Linked DNA regions of Homo sapiens: regions 1 and 3 are each linked to region 2. The links are contacts of gene promoters, found by promoter capture Hi-C in blood cells and fetal thymus (Javierre and others, 2016). All regions are on one chromosome and are shown on one strand. Each heading gives the region's core, a stretch centred on a gene start or on the middle of the fragment in contact. The rest is flanking DNA. Distances are from core to core; before and after follow the strand shown.

Region 1 (2,700 bases), core at 22-2,521, 210 kb before region 2:
TGAAAAATTTACTTGCAAAGTTCTATCTGGTGTTCTGTCTTGAACTTCCCTTTTCTGAGAAGTTGGGTGTATTGTATGGGATACTCCCATACATCTACCTTCTGGGCAAACTGACTACAAAAGATGTGGGAAATCTCTTGTTCAGGCACAGTAGCCTCTCTTAGGTCCTATATAAGCTCCTCTTCCTGAATTCTCAGTCAGTTAATTCCACATAGTTCACAGGACCCACATTTTCCTGTTGGTGACAGCAAAAGCTACAACAGACCAAATTATAATTTAATCAACTAGATACAGATTTTAACTCAAAGGTGTAATACATGCAAAACAGAGGAAGGTGCCTATTCTTTCTGTACTCATATAATCTAACTGAGGTTTTAAAATGTGGATGTCAGAACCTATTCTAGCCGGGCAGGGTGGCTCACACCTGTAATCCCAGCACTTCGGGAGGCCGAGGTGGGTGGATGGCCTGAGGTCGGGAGTTCAAGACCAGCCTGACCAACATGGTGAAACCCCATCTCTACTAAAAATACAAAATTAGCCGGGCGTGGTGGCACATGCCTGTAATCCCAGCTACCTGGGAGGCTGAGGCAGGGGAATCACTTGAACCCGGGAGGCGGAGGTTACAGTGAGCCAAGATTGTGCCATTGCACTCCAGCCTGGGCAACAAGAGCAAAACTCTGTCTCAAAAAAAAAAAAAAAAAACAAAACCCTATTCTAAGGACCCAGATTACCAAATCTTTTTTTTTTTTTTTTTTTTTTTCAAAGAGACAGAGTCTCGCTCATTGCCCAGGCTGGAGTGCAGTGGTGCATTCTCAGCTCACTGCAACCTCCACCTCACGGGTTCTAGCAATTCTCCTGCCTCTGCCTCCCGAGTAGCTGGGATTACAGGCGCATGCCACCATGCCCAGCTAATTTTTGGTATTTTAGTAGAGACAAGGTTTCACCATGTTGCCCAGGCTGGTCTCAAACTCTTGAGTTCAGGCAATCCACCCACCTCGGCCTCCCAAAGTGCTAGGATTACAGGTGTGAACCACCGTGCCTGGCCGTTAATTTTTTCTGAAGGTGTTCTAGTTGATTCTGAAACTCAGTTTGGTTTGAAAACTTTTCAAGAATACATCACAGATTTTCATTCAACAGGTATTTGTTGAGAGCTTATTATGTAGCAGGTCCCATTCAAGGCACTGGAATACAGCAATGAACTTTTATAAAAGCCAGGGAATCGGCCAGGCACGGTGGCTCACGCCTGTAATCCCAGCACTCTGGGAGGCCAAGACGGGCAGATCACGAGGTTAGGAGATCGAGACCATTCTGGCTAACATGGTGAAACCCCGTCTCTACTAAAAATACAAAAAATTAGCCGGGCATGGTGGTGCGTGCCTGTAGTCCCAGCTACTCAGGAGGCTGAGGCAGGAGAATTGCTTGAACCCAGGACGCCGAGGTTGCAGTGAGCCAAGATTGCACCACTGCACTCCAGCCTGGGCGACACAGCAAGAATCAGTCTCCAAAAAAAAAAAAAAAAAAAAAAGCCAGGGAATCCCATTACTGGGTATATACCCAAAAGATTCTAAATCATTCTACTATAAAGACACATGCCACATGCACATGTATGTTTACTGCAGCTACATTTACAATAGCAAAGACTTGGAACCAACCCAAATGCCCATCAATGATAGACTGGATAAAGAAAATGTGGCACATATACACCATGGAATACTATGCAGCCATAAAAAAGAATGAGTTTATGTCCTTTGCAGGGACATGGATGAAGCTGGAAAACATCATTCTCAACAAACTAACACAGGAACAGAAAACCAAACACTGCATGTTCTCACTCATAAGTGGGAGTTGAACAATGAGAACACATGGACACAGGGAAGGGAACATCACACACTGGGGCCTGTCGGAGGGCTGGGGGCAAGAGGAGGGAGAGCAGTAGGACAAATATCTAATCCATGTGGGGCTTAAAACCTAGATGATGGGTTGATAGGTGCAGCAAACCACCATGGCACATGTATACCTATGTAAGAAACCTGCATGTTCTGCAAATGTATCCCAGAACTTAAAAGAAAATTTAAAAAAAGCCAGGGAATCAATAGATTTGTGACAGTGGAGGTAGAGAGAGACAAATAAGTAAAATGTCAGGTGATAATAAATGCTGTGAAGTAAGCAGTGGGTAAGAGGCTAAAAAATGACAAGGTGCACTGCTGTTTTAGGTAAGGAGGTGGTCAAGATGATATTCGAGCAGAGACTTAAATAAAAAATAAAACAAACACACTAACCGCCCTCTCCAGAAGAGAGGGGAGGCAGAACGCTTCTTCCTCCATGGAAGGACATCTATTCAATCCATTCTGGAGCCTGGGTAGGCATTAGTCAGGTGAAAGGAGGTTAGGAGGGAAAAGAAAGGATGTTTCAGGCAGGGGGAGCAGCATGTGCAAAGGCCTGGTCAGAGGGACAGAACAACTTCAATCCTATTGTATGGGGAAACAGTGGAGAGGGCTTCAGTACAGATGGGGAGAGGTACAGATTTGGAAGGGTTTTCTATGGCTTGCTAAGGAATCTAGCTTTATTCTGAGGCTAAGAGAGAGCCAGAGTTTGCATTTCTAGAAAGATTCCTCCAACTACAATATGGAGAATGGATTGGAAGAGGGGTGAAACTTAGAAAAAGGGAGACAGATGTCACTTTGGTATTCCAGGCAAGTA
Region 2 (2,700 bases), core at 132-2,631:
AAATACCTTTTTTTGCAACCTGATACTACCAAATCCACCAACACCGTTTTTAAAATTACAGTTCTGTAGGAAGTTCAAGGTGGTTTTCCCAGTTGCTCGCATTTTCACTCAGTTTATTTCTCTCTAAAACATCTGGATGTTGGTTTTTTAAAGCCCATTTGCCCCACTGGTGCAATATATTGTTTTTAAAAATAAATATTTTCAAAAATGGAGCCTAAGAGAATGGAGTGTAAACGAATGGGGGTGGGGCGAGGAGAGAAGGCAAAGACGGGCCCAGCGGGGAAAGGCTGGTTACTGGGTATTTTCCTTCTGAGAGCATGCTTTATTGGCATAGGCATCTGAGGTAACGAGCCATACAAACACGACCTTAGAACAAGAATGATCACGAGCAATGAGTGTAAGGCATAAATATCTGTAAGACGGAAATAATTTGACACTGATCACTAAGCAGCACCAGATGCTTCGGGACCTCATAAAGGAAAGGTAAGAGGTCCAGGAAACAGAGATCATTGCTACCCTCTGGGGTGGGGGGCAGGCGGGAGAAACCAAGGAATAACTACGGTTGGGCAGTTCAAAGCCTGAACAGTACAGAGCAAAAGAAAGCCAGCAAGTGACTAGGGGAAGGCACACACCCTGGCGAGTACGAAGAAGGGTGTGCAGTGTGCAAATACTGAACAGGTCTATGAAATGGTGTGGGTAAGAGATGTGGGTGTGGGTAAGGGGCAACGCAGGAGGCTCACGGTCCCCTCCCTGCAGCAGAGCAACAGAGGGTAAAAGAAGGGGGAGGGTGAAAAGCAAGAATGACTCATTACCAAAAGGAAGTGCTCAAGCCATAGGGAGGCATGCCACAGGGGATTTCAGGGCGAGGATTGTGAGGAGCTAGGTGCTCAGGGTGATGGGGGCAAAAATCAACGTCTTGTAGTTCCTGCTGCTAGTCTTTAACATGGGGGTGTGGGGGGGTTCGCGGCAGCCGAGTGCCAAGGCCTGGGAAGCGGCGCGGCGCGTGCGCAGTGGCGTTCGGCGGGACCCGCTGAGGCAAAGCGGAGCCGCAGTGACAGAAGCAAGCGGAGCGGCCGCCAGGAAGGACTCACCGAGGCGCAGGGGCTGGAGGTGGTGCTGGGGGTAGGTGACCGCTGGACCGTGACCAAAGCCATCTAGGCGCTGCTGGGTTGTTCCGGGCAGGGCATTCTTGTCCTGAGTGTGGGGGACGGGAGGGTGACGGAGCCGGGATGGGGAAAGGGGTGCGGGGTGGGGGTGAAGGGAACGGGGAGGAGGAGGAGGCCGCGGGAACGGCCGCAGACTCCGCACCCACCACCAGACTGTCGCCGACTGACGCTCCGAACGGGCGGCGGGCGGGCGGTTCCGCAGCTGCGGGGCACAATGAGCGCTCCCAGTGCGCAGGCGCCACCTGTCAGCTACCGCCTCTCCCCTCGGCGCGCGCCGCCGCCTGGTCGTAACCCTTGAGTTGCCGGAAGCTGGCCGAGTGCGTGCGCCTCGGGCCGCCGCACCCTCCTGGGTTTCCTCCTTCGTGCTGGAATCGCGCGGTTTGCCAGCACTGGGTGCTGTGGAGTGGGGTGGGGGAAGGGGCCGAAGGGAGCCAGCCCGGTGAGGGGTCCCAGGGCGGGGGGCCGCTGGAGTCTTCACTCCTGAGAGACAACCATTTTATGAGGTGGGGCGGCGCACAGCTTAACCAACCTTAAAAAAAAGCAGCTGAGATGAAAATCCTGAAGCAAACACGTTTTCTATTGGGAAAGGGCTCCGCGGAGTTTCAAACCCTCTCACTGGGCGCAGACAGAACTGGGCTAGACCAGTTTACTCCCTTCACCCCGGCTCTCGGGGGCTTTTTCTTAACTTTTCCCCCCCTTCCGTCTATGTTTTATGATGAGACTTCTGGAAAGAAAACCATTTTCCGTTTGATACCCTGGAAAGGTTTGTGGTACCCTCATGCTTCCTCTATTGCCTGTCTAAAGACTTATTCATTATTCCTGAGGAGAAGAGAAGCTGAGCGCGCCTGGGAGTCCGAGGAAGCCGGTTGTGAGGGTCCAGCCTGCTATTGACCTCTCACTTGCCTCCTGCTGTGAAGACAGTCTTTTAATTAAACAGGATTTGCTCGTTAAGCTTTCTTCTCCTTCGTCTCTAAATGTCATTCTTTCATAGACCTATGTAAAAATGTAGATTAAAAGATATTTTAAGGGAATGGTTTTCTCAGGGGTAAATTGTCTGCAGAACATAAGCAAAGAATGTAATGGAAAATCAAGATTAAAAAGGAAAAAAATTGCACAATGCAAATATCACTGATTATTTACACAAAGAAAGAGAGTTGACAAGGCTATTTCTCAGCTTGAGTGGATGAGCTGGTAAATACCACCGTACATATCAAAGCTGTAGAAAACACACACACTTGGGAGTTTGCAGTTATTAAAACCCACCCCCTCCTGTTTGTCACTCAAACACTCTTGGATCTCATTGCTTCTTTTAAACTGACAGGGCTGTCATGAGCTCTTTCTGGCTGCTGTACGGTTAAACGCCACAAGAGTCCTCTGTGCTGAGCCTTTGTTCTCTCCCTGGGGCCCTGTGGTTGAAATAATTAGCAGGGAGGTTCCATCAAGAATCAGACACTGAGGGTCCCTGTACTGTACAGTCCTATGTAGAGTGTAGTGCAGAGAAGCCAGCTGGTAGGCTTTTGCCCCCTGGTGGTGA
Region 3 (2,700 bases), core at 56-2,555, 140 kb before region 2:
CATCATTAGGTAATTTTTTGGAACAACATTATTCCAGTGGATATTGAGTCAATATATAAAGCTTGAAATTGACTCAGAGAGCTTTAAATCTGACCTTCTAGAAAATATAAGAATTATTTTTTCATTCTAATGGGAATATGATTACGATGCCTCTGGTACACATTCAGCTAAAATTTATTTTTGGTTTCTACCTCCTTAGCCCTATGCAAAAGAAGGACACTTCTCTTTGCTAAGAGACACGAGAAATTAAGCCTTAAGCCCACAATTTATGTGTTAACAAATCAGGAAAAAAACTACCGATAATCTCAGTTACTGATGAAAAGGAACTATTTTTATATTAAGTTGTAGTTTACAAGAAGGAGGTATATATCAACAAACACCTGATAATAATAATAATAATTTTTATTATTTTTTGTTTGTTCTTGTTTTTGAGACGGAGTCTCGCTCTGTAGCCCAAGCTGGAGTGCAGTGGCGCGATCTCGGCTCACTGCAAGCTCCGCCTCCCGTGTTCACGCCATTCTCCTGCCTCAGCCTCCTGAGTAGCTGGGACTACAGGCACCCGCCACCATGCCCAGCTTATTTTTTGTATTTAGTGGAGACAGGGTTTCACCGTGTTAGCCAGGATGGTCTTGATCTCCTGACCTCGTGATCCGCCTGCCTCGGCTTCCCAAAGTGCTGGGATTACAGGCGTGAGCCACCGCGCCCGGCCTGATAATTATTAAAGCAGCATTCCCTTTAGCCAGCTTCTTCACAATGAGCATGCTTATTGATCCTTTCTCTGTATCATCTAGAATGGCTCATTTGAGTTCAGAGGATACAAGTTTGGTAACATTGAAATGACCATCTAGAACTTACCAGGCCTGTTTCTTGTGGGAGGGAGTTACTTTTAAAAACCCTTAAAGGAGATAAAATAAATGTTATTTTATACTTCCTAGATTTCTCTCACAATTGTTTTCTTTTAATGTTACTGGGTACTGGCACCCTTCTAACAACATGCCCACTATTCCATGAGAAGAGGGTAAAAATATTTCATTGCATTTTAAAAGATTAGGTAGGTTACTCAGTATACTTACTCAGTATACCCTTTGTATAGAAACAAAGTGAAATATTTACCAATCTGCAAGAATTGCCAAAATTTATCAAATATGAATGACAAATTAAGTACAAAACTGAAGGCTGAAATGTTCTTCAGTTGATATTTTCCTGAAAGGTAAGGAAATTTTGCTTTTTTATTACCCCCAAGATAATTCCTTGGATGCTTGGGTGAAAACTGAGCCAAAATTGACCTTTCTGCCTCTTTTTAAACCAATGTACCATTGAAAAATCTTTCTGAGTCAGTAACTGGATTCCTAAAGCATTCGCTCTTACTCTTTTTTTTTTTAAAAAACGGAGGAAGGTCCTGATACGTTGTCTCAAACTCCTGGCCTTAAGCAATCCCAAGTAGCTGGAATTACAGGCACAAAATACCATGCCCAGGTGCAATCTGGTTTCTTGAGAGACCAAGGAAGCACGTTGAAAAACAAGGATAAGCTAATCTGATAAGACTGAAAAAGAATTAGAGAAAAAACAATAACTACTACAAAAATATCCTACAACAAAAATGCCGTAGGATATAATGAACAAACATACCTCCTGGGCTGTGACCGGCATTCTTCCTCCCCACTGTCTGCCTCCTGTATAGACAGAAAATGAAAAAAAAAATTAAAACCTGAGGTTTCATATCATAATATCACTAATATAATTTTACTAAGTTTCACATGTTGTGTACTTGAACTAAATTACTCATGTTGTATACTTGAACTAAATTCTCTTCAAAAAAAGTGACTTCAACCAACCCAGGAAGTTGATGTCAATAGAACTTACTCCTGGAGGTAACTTCAACAGTAGTCCATGAACAAATTTCATTGACAATGAAGTGCTATTCATTAAAACAATTACCTCCAAAAACCAACTAAACATGTTATTTTACTGTTATGCTACTTCAGCTTCAAAACGAGTGGGCATTCTGACTACCACCAATAAATCTCATCAATATAACCTATTAATGATTCTGACCCCCAAAGAACAACCTAAACAATGAACACCACTTAAAAGAGAGTGCTCATGATCAAATCACCATCAACATCAACATAATGGCTACCACTTGTTGAGTACTTACAATGTGCTAGGCACTGTGTTCCTCAATTTAAGTACATTACTGTACTTATTCTTTATAAACCCAGAAGGTTGATGGTACCAATTATTTTTAATTTATTCAAATACACACAGTAACATAGGATAAATCAATGTCATATAAAAGCACTGATGGTTAATGACCCACCCAGGGATGCCAAACAATGATGACAACAAAAAGCACTGAATCATAGTTCAATTACAATATTTATTTCTTCTTAGTGTGGCACATAAAATAATAGAAAGTCTTATAACTTATGTCAATTTAGACTCAATGAATATTTTACAGATGAAGAAGCAAAAGGGAAATAAGCTGTCCAAGGAGACTCATGTGGTAAAGAATTAAAACGAAGAAATATTGACTCCCAGCTAGCTGAAAAAGCTTATCATTTACCTCTCCTTGCCCTGGGTTAAAAATTAGTATATGTTATGATATTATACTGATCTTCACAGAGGCAAGAATATTGACATGAAGGAAAAGTGAGGAAAGATGAAGAGGCTTTTTCTTTAAATTTGCTCCCTGACAAT

The links. Contacts are between HindIII fragments. The CHiCAGO score rates a contact against its expected background, and 5 or more counts as called.
Region 1: a contact is called between a fragment that was not itself captured here and the fragment with the promoter of SSH2 in region 2, in 1 of 17 cell types (fetal thymus). The highest score is 5.3, in fetal thymus.
Region 3: a fragment that was not itself captured here is called in contact with the fragment with the promoter of SSH2 in region 2 in 7 of 17 cell types (M2 macrophages, M0 macrophages, megakaryocytes and 4 more); the score reaches 9.4 in M2 macrophages.

What each region holds. Positions count from the first base shown.
Region 1 is chr17:29,723,845-29,726,544 of GRCh38, forward strand. The region is part of intron 3 of SSH2 (slingshot protein phosphatase 2); the gene reads right to left. Among named protein-coding and RNA genes, the nearest start is that of SSH2-AS1, 86 kb to the left of the region's middle. The HindIII fragment of the contact is 3,748 bases long and covers 1-2,700 here.
Region 2 is chr17:29,928,847-29,931,546 of GRCh38, forward strand. It overlaps SSH2 (slingshot protein phosphatase 2), which reads right to left and starts at 1,382. Exons shown (of 16, transcript NM_001282129.2): 1 at 1,092-1,382. The coding sequence starts at 1,154. It also overlaps a transcript of EFCAB5 not described here. RefSeq lists silencers at 582-631, 1,142-1,421, 1,572-1,661, 2,395-2,564. The HindIII fragment of the contact is 8,919 bases long and covers 1-2,116 here.
Region 3 is chr17:29,792,265-29,794,964 of GRCh38, forward strand. It overlaps SSH2 (slingshot protein phosphatase 2), which reads right to left. Exons shown (of 16, transcript NM_001282129.2): 3 at 1,630-1,673. Among named protein-coding and RNA genes, the nearest start is that of SSH2, 140 kb to the right of the region's middle. The HindIII fragment of the contact is 2,493 bases long and covers 60-2,552 here.